Linked DNA regions of Homo sapiens: region 2 is linked to region 1. The links are contacts of gene promoters, found by promoter capture Hi-C in blood cells and fetal thymus (Javierre and others, 2016). All regions are on one chromosome and are shown on one strand. The core of a region is centred on a gene start or on the middle of the fragment in contact, and the rest is flanking DNA. Distances in the headings are between cores, read along the strand shown. Region 1 holds the start of ARHGAP18 (Rho GTPase activating protein 18). Region 2 overlaps EPB41L2 (erythrocyte membrane protein band 4.1 like 2).

Region 1 (5,676 bases), core at 1,532-4,031:
CAAAGGAAGAAGGAAAACTAGAAAAAAAAGGAAGATAATAAAAAGGGAGGTAGAGGGAAGTAAGGGGGGAGAAAAAGGTGGGAGGGAAACAGAAAAGAATTTCCAAAAGATAATGTAGTGATTACCATCAATAATTGTATAAGATAGTGATTCCCATATGTTTGCATTTCAGAGTAGCTACATAAAAAAGGAGGGGTGGATGAGCTGGTTATTAACATTTTTTCCATGTAAGGACACTGAAAAGACAAAACACATATATTCTAATTTACTTTAATCTTTGCCTCCCTCTCTTTATAGTTTTTGTTTTGCCTGAACTGATGAACATTTCCTCATAGGTTAGCACTGGTATGTGCATGGGAACCGCTTATCTAATATTACCAATTTTAATATAAAGATTTAGTAGAGTTGGCCGGGCGCGGTGGCTCATGCCTGTAATCCCAGCACTTTGGGAGGCCGAGGTGGGCGGATCACCTGAGTTCGGGAGTTCAAGACCAGCCTGACCAACATGGAGAAACCCAGTCTCTACTAAAAATACAAAATTAGCCAGCGTCGTGACACATGCCTGTAATCCCAGCTACTCGGGAGACTGAGGCAGGAGAATCGCTTGAACCTGGGAGGTGGAGATTGTGGTGAGCCGAGATCATGCCATTGCACTCCAGCCTGGGCAACAAGAGCGAAACTCTGTCTCAAAAAAAAAAAAAAATTTAGTAGAGTTTTAAAGGATACTTTCAATTCATTCAGGTTTTCCTCCATTCAGTGTTTACTGAAGGCTCAGTAGGTACAAAATTTAAGTTAGCTGTCAGATGAAGAGAAAAGAATCATAGTAGGACCTGAAAAGATTGTGTCTAGCAGATGGAAAGACTTGTATGTATAAGGTAGCAGGAATGCCCAGTGATCTGCTCAAAAGCCTGGAACTGGCTCTGTTAGCAATAGAGAGCCAATGAAGGTTTTTAAGCGAGGAGAGGGATCATGAGTGCCAGGGTGTGATCATAATGTCAAAGCAATTTAAAGGAGGTGACAGGGAGATGAGCTAAAAGGGCTGTTGTAATATTGGAGCTAAGACTGCATTATAGGATCCAGAGGTGGTTGAGGTCATGGGGATAAAAAGGAGACAGCAAGTAAAGTCCTATGGAAGTGGAAATGGGAAGGTTGAGCAGTTGTGCAGGGGGGAGGGAGGAAGATATAAATTCCTTTTAAGGAAGACTTTTGTAAATTATAAGAAAGAGGGTTCAAAAATAAATTTCAGATACTTCTAGAGTATGTAAGGAGGAAGAAATTATTTTTCATGACTGTTTTAAATAATGATAAGGTATAAGCAATAAGTTTATGTAATGATGGAATTGGAAACTTGTTCAAGAGGAATTCTAGAGAGTTGAATGAATCATAAAAATCTAAAAAAACCTTCAGACTACTGGGTATGTCAGAGTAGAAGCCAGGCGTGGTGGCTCATGCCTGTAATCTCAATACTTTGGGAGCTTGAGCCAAGAGGATTGCTTGAGCCCAGGAGTTCAAGACCAGCCTGGGCAACACAGTGAGACCCTCCCTCTCCACAAAGCATAAAAAAATTAGCTGGGCGTGGTAGTGCATGCCTGTGGTCTTAGCTATTGGGGAGGCTGAGGCTGGAGGATTTCTTGAGCCTGGGAGGTTGAGGCTGCAGTGAGTTACAATCACCACTGTACTCCAGCCTGGGTGACAGAGTGAGACCCTGATTCAAAAACAAACCAAAAAAGTGATTTTTTTTTTTGGAGGGGAGATGGGGAGAAAGAACAGAGCTGTCTTTTGTGTTTATGATAATTTTGATCTTGTTTCTTAATCTGCAAAACAAAGAAGAGCATACTGGTGAAAAATAAAAGGAATGTAGCCTAGAATTCTGTTCAAATCCAGCTTCTGGCACTAGCAACTGTGTTATCTTAGTGAAGTTACTTAACTCGTCCCTCAGCCTTACTTTCCTTGTGTTATGTATAACACAGATGATAGTGATACCTATCTTGTACGGTGTGTGTGTGTGTGTGAGAGAGAGAGAATTGAATGGAATGAGATAATACATGTGAAACCCCCGTCCATGAGAGCTTGGCATATAGTAGGTGCTCAACAAATGGCAGGGACTTCTCTTGTTCTCAGCAATAACACTTAACAGAGCATTGGTAGGTCTATCCCTTTTTGGTGCTGAAAAATATTTTGCTAAAACAAGACGTATATTTGAGATTGGCTTTATGTGAAAGACGACGACATTCCAGGACACACAATTTTTATGAGGGCATTTTTAACCGGACACAAGGATCAAGCCTTTCTCGTCGTCTGGATTGCAGAGTTTTGCCGCGGGTTCGTTGTTTTTTACTATGGCTAATTTTAACGCTGAACATGAAGGGGTTAAGAAATGCCTTTACTCATGTTACATTAAGTAGCAGAAATTATAAGATAGAGGAATTGGGGAGGGAAAAAAAAAAGCCTTGGCAGCAACTCATGGTTTCCTAAGTAAGACGGCTTGTAGTTACAGTGATGAGTTGAATATACGTTCTGGCAGTTTAATCTGATCAGACTAACTTGGGGGTGGGTGCAACCCGTCGCTTCCACCCTTCGCCTCCTTTAACCAAAGCCGCCCAGAGTGCAATTGTCCAGAGTTGAAACCATGCTGTGAGTTGCAGCTTCTAATTGGAGAGGCAGGAAGCCCTTCCCTGGACAGACCCCGCCCCTCCCCGTGTGAATCGCCAGCCTGCGGGGAGGAGCTGGCCAATGCTAATGAGCGAGTTGCCAGGCGAGACAGGAACTTCTTTCCCCTTCTCTGTGTCAGGATCGCAGAAAGTATGTCCCTTCTCTCACCATGAGCTGGCTCTCCAGTTCCCAGGGAGTGGTACTAACAGCCTACCACCCCAGCGGCAAGGACCAGACCGTCGGGAACAGCCATGCAAAGGCAGGGGAGGAAGCCACCTCGAGGTAAGCCTTCGGAAGCTGAAAACAAAACAAAACCCTCTTACCTGCTCCAGGAAGAAAGTGACAGGGAAGTTGGCGTGGGGAGAAGGGAATTCCATCTGCACGTCGAGCCTGAGCTCGTGCAGCAGCAGTAGCAACGTTTGGCGTGATTTTTATGTACTTTTCATCTCACCTAGTCCAAGTCTGAAATAACCCATATGATTACTGGTGAAGACAGAGAAGAAGGAACTGGGGAGAGGGCTATATGGGCTGTCAGACTAGCTATTTAGCAGGTGCATTTGCACATGCTGAAAGATCAAATAGGTCTATCTGAAACACTTCCTTTCCTATGAAATGGAATTCTTGAATGGGCTCAAGGCACTGCCACTGGAACTGTTCGCTGGGAAAGTCTGCCAAAAAGCAGGGAGGCTGTTCACTGTACTGTACAAGCTGTTGTTGTTAGAGTGTTTTTTTTCCCCCCTCTCTTTGCTGAAAGCAAACCTCTTAGGCAAAAAGCCCAAGACACTGGCCTGTGGCAATATGTTTCACATTCTTTTGTGTATGTGGATTTTTTTTCCCCCAGGCTTTCAAAAAGGAGTTTTTGTCAGGAGATAGCACTCTGCTGCTGGAGTGAAATGTGGTTAATGTTAAATCACTTTATAGGCAGAGAGGGCAAATGTTCTATAGACCACTGAGGCGCAAAGGGTACCTTTCTCCCTATCTGTGTACTTTGTTCCATTTTCCAAGGGCTTTTTTTTTTCTTTCTCTCCTTAATGACCTTCTCACTAGCTGAACATTTTTACCTCCATCAAGATATAAATAGTAAATATTGGCCTAGAAGATTGCAAGAAGCAAATACTAACCTAATAGCCTAGAACACTAAATTAGTTATCGGTAAGCACATTTCCTCCTCAATGCTTAATGTGATAATAAAACCTTCTTTGTTCTTATGTGACTTATGCCTGTGCCTTAAGCTGAAATAATGCTGCCTTTCATTTGTTTTAAAATCTCCAAATATGAGGGAGGGAGAAAAATCAAAGGAATGGCTGTAATACTCAGTGTTAGACTCCCAGCTGACGGGAACTGTTTCTCACATAGCATCCACAGTATGTATTTCATTGAATGAATTCATTTCCAAAGATAAAAAAGATTTGGTGCTTGTGCCTTAGCTGTGTTACCATTTCATTTTCCATCATTTTAAATGACTTAATGTTAAATCATTAAATCAAGAGATCTTGAAGTGTTTTCATCCATTTTTCTGTAATGTATTAGTAATCATTAAGCAGTAAAGCAGCCTGCAACACCAACCCCATACCCAGCCATAACTTGGATTCCACATGTCAGTCAAAATTGCCAAAATTATACAAGCTCAGGACATTCTCCGACTTTAGGCTGAATGGCCTGAGGACCTGAGCTGAATCTTGGATCTTGATTGTGAGAATGGAAAGGACCTTAAGGACTGAGTCCTAACCTCTCATTTTCACGTAGGACTCAAACCCCAGGGATTAGTTAAGTTTTTGGAAGGTCTGGAGTTCTAGGCCTTTGTCTGGGGCTGCATCTCCAGTTCTGGAGACTCATTATTCTGTGTTTGCAGTGTGGGTGGCCCATACTTGAGTGGGTTGAGAGAATAAGAGAGGATCAGATCATTCTCTGCCTAGGCTGAAGCAGAACCAAGAGGCACTAAGGTGGCAGGGTGGGCAGCTGCCCACACGGCAAGTGCCCTGTGTGGGGCCACAGCTCCAGGTGAGCTCCTTTGCTGGCTGTCACGTAGCCTGCCCATACCAGACCCAACTTCCCACCACTGAATTAGTTCTAGGGATCGTTCCTGATATTGACCGGAGAAGATGGGAGCCTGGTTTGAGGGCAGGGAGGAAGGAGGGAGTAGGGCTAGTTTTCAATGGCTTTTACCCTTAAGGGCTAACGAATCAGATAAACTTGTTGTTGTTTTGGGAGATACCCTGTTTAGCCTGAAAGGATTGAGATACTGTAATTGCTATGGGGGAGGGGATGGATAGAAGGAAGGAGGATTTGAAGGTGGGATGGGGTCCTCGGTGACCACCTAAGAATGGTGATAGTGGTTTCGGGGCGGTGAACTGGACTTTGGCTTTGGCTTTGGCTGGGTTGGTCAGGTGTTGTTTTAAGCCCTGGGAAGCTGCTCCAAGGTGCAAGGTTGATGGTTGATGCCTATTTAAAGAAGTTCTCCAAAAAGTAAAAACAAAACAAAACTCTTAAAAAGGCTACATTAGGCTGGGTGTGATGGCTCACACCTGTCATCTCAGCACTTTGGGAAGCTGAGGTGGGTGGATTGCTTGAGCTCAGGAGTTAGAGACCAGCCTGGGCAAAAAAAAGACCCCCGCCCCCACAGCTCTACCAAAAATACAAAAAAAAAAAAAAAAACAAGAAACCACAAACAAACTAGAAATGGTAGTGCATGCCCGTGGTCCCAGCTACTCAGGAGGCTGAAGTGTGAGGATCACTTGAGGCTGGTGGAGCAGAGATTGCAGTGAGCTGAGATCACGCCACTGCACTCCAGCCTGGGTGAGGGAGTGAGACCCTGTCTCAAAAAATAAATAAATAAATAAAAAATAAAAGCTAAATTAGATTCTGCATTTCCTCCTACCCATTTAAAAATTATAGAAGATAGCACGGAAGTATAACTTTTCTTATCACAAGATTTTGTCTGTAAGTAATATGTTCTTTGAAATATTTAATCCAATATTTAGTTCATGAGATGAATTCATGTCTTTATAATGCCATTTATACATA
Region 2 (5,543 bases), core at 2,235-4,734, 1.3 Mb before region 1:
TGTAGGGTGATCTTTCAAGTATAGTTTTCAGGACATTTCAATAACCTTTTTTAAAATGAATGCCATTACTTGAAAGCGAGGATAAGTGACATGTTCAAGCCAAACTAAGTGTAGGAAGAGCACCAGTCTAGGGATAAGAGACCTGAGTTGTTCTAGTCCTTATTTTGTTATAACCAGTTGTATGATTTTGGAAAAGTAATTTTGAGTTTAATTTTCTTCATTTCTTTTTTTGACACAGGGTCTCAATTTGTTGCCCAGGCTGGAGTGGAGTGGCGCCATCTTGGCTCACTGTAGCCCCGGCTAATTTTCGCACTTTTTGTAGATACGAGGTTTCACCATGCTGCCCAGACTGATCTCGAATTCCTGGGCTCAGGCAATGTGCTTGCCTTGGCTTCCCAAATTTCTGGGATTACAGGCGTATGACACTACACCTGACCAATTTTTGTCATTTCTAAACTTTTAATGAGTTGGATTATATTATACTGTCCCCCCCAACCCCCAATATGTTTATTGGTCTCAGACCCCAAATTCAGTTTGTTTCTCGTAGATAGGAAACCATAGTTAACATTCCCTTTGTGTGGTTAAGAAAATAGGTCTCTAGTGTCAACTTGCAGTAGTATTACACCTTGTAGTATGTTCAGAAACTGGCATGCTGACTTTATGGTTCTCCATATTCATTAGATGTTTTAACAGTCATAAGCTCTTTCTATGCTTATGTCTTCAAGTAATTGTTGGTGATGATAGATTTAGCCCTTCAGTTTCATTTTTTATTGTGGTAAAATACATATAAAGATATATTAAAAACTATACAAAAATATGTAAAAAATTTGCCATTTTAACCATTTGTAAATGTGCAGCTCAGAAGCATGAAGTATGTTCACAATGCTGTGCAACCATCACCACTGTCTATTTCCAGAACTTTTTCATCATCACAAACACAGACTCTGTACCCGTTAAACAGTAACTCCTCTTCCTTTTTCCTTGCAGCCCCAGGTAACTTTTATTTTACTTTCTGTTTATATGAATTTGCCTATTCTCAGTACTTCATAAAAGTGGAATCATACAATATTTGTCTTTCTTTATCTGGCTTATTTCACTTAGCATAGTGTTTTCAAAATTCATTCATGTTGTAGCATGTGTCAGAATTTTATTCCTTTTTAAGGCTGAATGATATTTCATTGTATGTATATGTCTTACTTATCCATTCATCTATTGTTGGACATTTTTGTTTCTACCTTTTGTCTATTGTGAATAATGCTGTTATGAACATTGGTGCACAAATATCTATTTGGGTCCCTGCTTTCACTTCTTTTGAGTGCATACCTATGTGTGGAATTGCTAGGTCATATGGTAATTCTTAAATTTGTGGGGAACAAACAGACAATTCTACAAGGGATGTGCCATTCATTCTATATTCCTGCCAGCAACTCATAAGGGTTTTATTTCCTCTACCTCCTTGCCTATACTTGTTTTGCTCCTTCCTTCCTTCCTTCTTTCCTTCTCCCTCCCTCCCTTCTTTCTTTCTCTCTCTCCTGTCTTTCTTTGTCTTTCTCTGTCTCTTTTTTTCTTTTTTAAATCATAGCCATCCTGGCCAGGCACAGTGGCTCACGCATGTAATCCTAGCACTTTGGGAGGCCGAGGCAGATGAATCACGAGGTCAGGAGTTCAAGACCAGCCTTGCCAAGATGGTGAAACCCTGTCTCTACTAAAACTACAAAAATTAGCCAGGTGTGGTGGCAAGCGCCTGTAATCCCAGCTACTCGGGAGGCTGAGGCAGGAGAATTGCTTGAATCCGGGTGACAGAGGTTGCAGTAAGCTGAGATTGTGCCACTGCACTCCCAAAGTGCTGGGATTTCCCAGAGTGCTGGGATTTCAAGCGTGAGCCACCGTGCCCAGCCTTAAATTTTTTTTTGTTATTGTTAGTCTTTGATTTTTAAATGTAACATTGAATAAAGAGGTACCATTATGAGGTTAGTACACTTAACTTCAGCATTGGTATATATAAAATTGTTACCTTATGGTTATTATTTTGGCAGGACTGGTAGATAAGAATACATCCTCTTTCATACAGTTTTTAACAAATAATAATTCTTTTGTGACTTGAGAGATTAAGAGCTGTAGTAAACAGAATTTTTTTCTGTTACTTTTCTGTAAAGTTCCAGGCTCGAGTCCTTGGGCAAGCTAACCTAGCAAGTGAGCATACGTTGTAATATCCTGGGATGATGGTCACTCTGCCTCACTACTGGTTCTTGAGATTAAAGTATAAATCTGAAAGTGCTTTGTGAACTGAATAATGCCAATTTTTATTTTTTACTTTGGCCCACTGAGATACTGTGACCTTCTGTGCAAGCGAGTTTTTAATCATGAGGGAAAAAAGTGAAGGTTTATGTAGCACTTGTCTTTAAAAGAACCAAAATTATTTCATTTATTCCCTTTACATTCTCGGGAGCTGAAAGAAGATAAATGCTACTGCATTTTAGGGATGAAAAAACTGAAGGAAGGATGAAACCCTTGTATTTTTCCATAGCTTTGTAAACCACTATACCAGTCCCTCTTCAAGCAAGACTTTATTGTGCTGGCTAGGGCTGTCTCTGTGGTTCTTGACATGGTAATATATAGGAATATTATATATGATATATGAGACTATATGGGACTATAACTGATGTAAGCTTGGTTTATGAGCTTATCTGATAAGCATTTCTTTGAGTAGTTTTCTCTTCAAATGTGTTTTTAGGGATATTTTCTCAGGGTTGAAGCCATTTTGAAATTTGCTGTATAGTTTAAACAAATGCCTTGCTTCCTCTCCCTTTTATACCCTCTTCACTTTGGAGTAAGTGTAGCTATGCTCTCTTCAAGAAAGAGTTTCATGGCATTTAAAGAGGAAAATATTATCTTCTGCCAATGTTAACATTAACATAGCATTTCTTTTTCTAATTTTTTTCTAGTTCTCATTTGTGTACATCGATAAATGCCGCCTTCAGAATTGGAGAAAGGTTGAGATAGAAAACATATATTATCAGAGCTTCATGGTCAAAAGATTCATTTTATAGTGACAATTACTATCTCACAGGTTGGATTATTTGTTTCTTTTGGTTGTAAATGTTTACAATTCTACTGAATTTTCAGCTAGTGTGCTTATAAGTTATTTTCTTTTTTGTGTGGCAATTCATATGACAGAAGAATTGAATGAGGAAATTAGGAAGTTTTGAACTGTCACATTTGCTAGGAGTTGGATTTAATTTATTATTAGTAAAATTTCCAGTTAAATAAGATAATTCTAATATTTATAGGTTACTGTGTATTCTTTCAGCATGCTCCTTGGTACAAAACTATTCAATTGAATTTACTAACTATATATGATTATCTTGGAGCCTTTTTTGGTACTCTATCAGCTGTTTCTATGGTAATTTTTTGTTCATTGTTATCACTTATAGCTTACTCTATTATGGCTTTTTAAAAAAAAAATCTCTGTATATTTTCTTATCCTTACTTGTTTGCTTACTTTTCTAACCATTAGTCTAAATTGACATTTAGGTAAATTTGCTTTTAAGTTGAATACTTAAGCCAATGATTCAGTCATTTTGTCTTTTCTGGGGTGGGTAGTGCCTACTAGACATTTAATTGTGCTGCATTTTAATATTTCTTACCATTCATTATAAACTTTTTTTTTTTAGACAGGCTCTCCCTCCGTTGCCCAGACTGGAGTGCAGTGGCACCATTTTGGCTCATTGCATCCTTAACCTCTTGGGCTCAGGCGATCCCCCCACCTTAGCCTCCTGAGTAGCTGGGACTACTGGTGCGTGCCACTGCCATGCCTTGCTAATTTTTGTACCTTTTTTTTTTTTTTCTGTAGAGATGGGATTTTGCCATGTTGCTCGGGCTGGTCCTCGAGCTCCTGAGCTCAAGCGATCTGCCTGCCTTGGCCTCCCAAAGTGCTGGGATTACAGGCGTGAGACACACCATGCCCTGCCTCTCAATACACTATTTAATACATCAGACCCTTTGGTACCTCTAGGCAGAGGACCGCAATTAATTTATGAGCAGCTGTTGCTGTATACATGTAATTATGTTTGACTACAAATGCATCTTTACAAAATGGGCCTAGTGGAATCATAATATAAATGGTTCAGATTAACTTAATTCAGATTAAGAAAATTGTTTCATACTGAGGTAAGCGATTGAAAAATTGTCTATTTAAAAATGCAGTGCATTTTAAAGAGTTACTATTTGAGGATCTAAAATATACAGAGAAGGCTGCATATTTTACTTTGATCTTATTACCATCCAAAAGAAAGCTTACATAGAAATGATTTGTCACTTTCTGCTTTCTGAAGAAGATATATGAGTCTTTTAGCCAGGTCCTGGCTATTTAGTCAGTTGAGAAATACTTTCATTAAAAACCTATTGGTAGAAATTTGCCAGTTTATTGAGCACTTGCTCAAGTAGTTGCTTTTCTGAGAGGCAGTGGTGAGACCAGGATGTTCCAGCCCCAAGGAGGGCCCTGTAGCCCATCTCAGCCTGGCCATGTCGTGCTATGAGAGGTTCCTCTATCCATTGGTCAAGGAAGGGATCAGGCCCTGCAGTCACACTGCCTTTGCCTCTTGCCGACTTTATTCTTGAGCGAGTCACTTGGCAGAGCCTCTGGTTTCTCTTAGGGTTGCTGTAAGCATAGAGCACGGGGTCCTGGTAGGGAGCAGATAACAGTAGGGCCCTGAACCATTTGTTAAAGTCATTGAGGAACTGCGAACAGTGGTTCTGAATAGTTTTTAGTGTGTGTGAAACTGTGATTGAAACTGTACATGTGTGGAAAGCCACAATCCAATTGTGCAGGCTGGGGTGCTGCATAAAAAAAAAAAAAAGAAAAAAAGAGAAAAATCCTCCCTTGAGGATTCCATTGTTGGATAAAGGGCTCAGAACAATCAGATCTTGCTTTGGGCTTTCAGGTATTGTGGCACCAACAGCTGTATTCTGTTAAAGATCAACTTTCAACTGTTTGATAGCAGTTAAATGTCACTGGAATGTTTAGGCAATTGCTTTGTAATTTGACAGGCATCTCTAAGTTTTTCCGAAGTAAATGTATTAAATCTGAGTCAGCCTTTGACATGTAAATCACATTCAGGATTCCATGGGCGTTGAGGTGGGAGAATGAACTTTTAATTTCTGGAATTAATTTGGCAGTTTAAAAATAGAGCTGTGATAGTTCTAATGTTGAATCCTTTCTGCGTGTTTAAAAAATTATTTCTATAGAATGAAATTGTAGAATGTAAGTATAGCTTCTGAAAGGACAGTTATTAATGTGCTATTTAGCCAGGTGGTTTTCAGAATTTGACTAGTGGAATTAAGCATGCTTTTTTTTTTTTTTTTTTTTTTTAAACAAATGCTGAAGTAGGGTGGGTGTGATATTTTCAGGTTTTTGCAAAACCCTAAACTGTTATGCTTTTCAGTCCTAAGCAAAACAGAAAAAAACATCAGTATTCCCTTGATGCTTTTCCCAAGTATAGCCCACTAAAGGAGGAAGTTGTAAGGAGACAAAGTCTTGTATT

The links. The method cuts DNA at HindIII sites, captures the fragments that hold promoters and counts their contacts. A CHiCAGO score of 5 or more calls a contact.
Region 2: a fragment that was not itself captured here is called in contact with the fragment with the promoter of ARHGAP18 in region 1 in 1 of 17 cell types (M0 macrophages); the score reaches 5.7 in M0 macrophages.

The regions. Positions count from the first base shown.
Region 1 is chr6:129,707,282-129,712,957 of GRCh38, reverse strand. ARHGAP18 (Rho GTPase activating protein 18) reads left to right here and starts at 2,781. Exons shown (of 15, transcript NM_033515.3): 1 at 2,781-2,934. The coding sequence starts at 2,822. RefSeq lists a silencer at 2,428-2,507. The HindIII fragment of the contact is 10,321 bases long and covers 1-5,676 here.
Region 2 is chr6:131,029,220-131,034,762 of GRCh38, reverse strand. The region is part of intron 1 of EPB41L2 (erythrocyte membrane protein band 4.1 like 2); the gene reads left to right. Among named protein-coding and RNA genes, the nearest start is that of EPB41L2, 31 kb to the left of the region's middle. The HindIII fragment of the contact is 1,626 bases long and covers 2,672-4,297 here.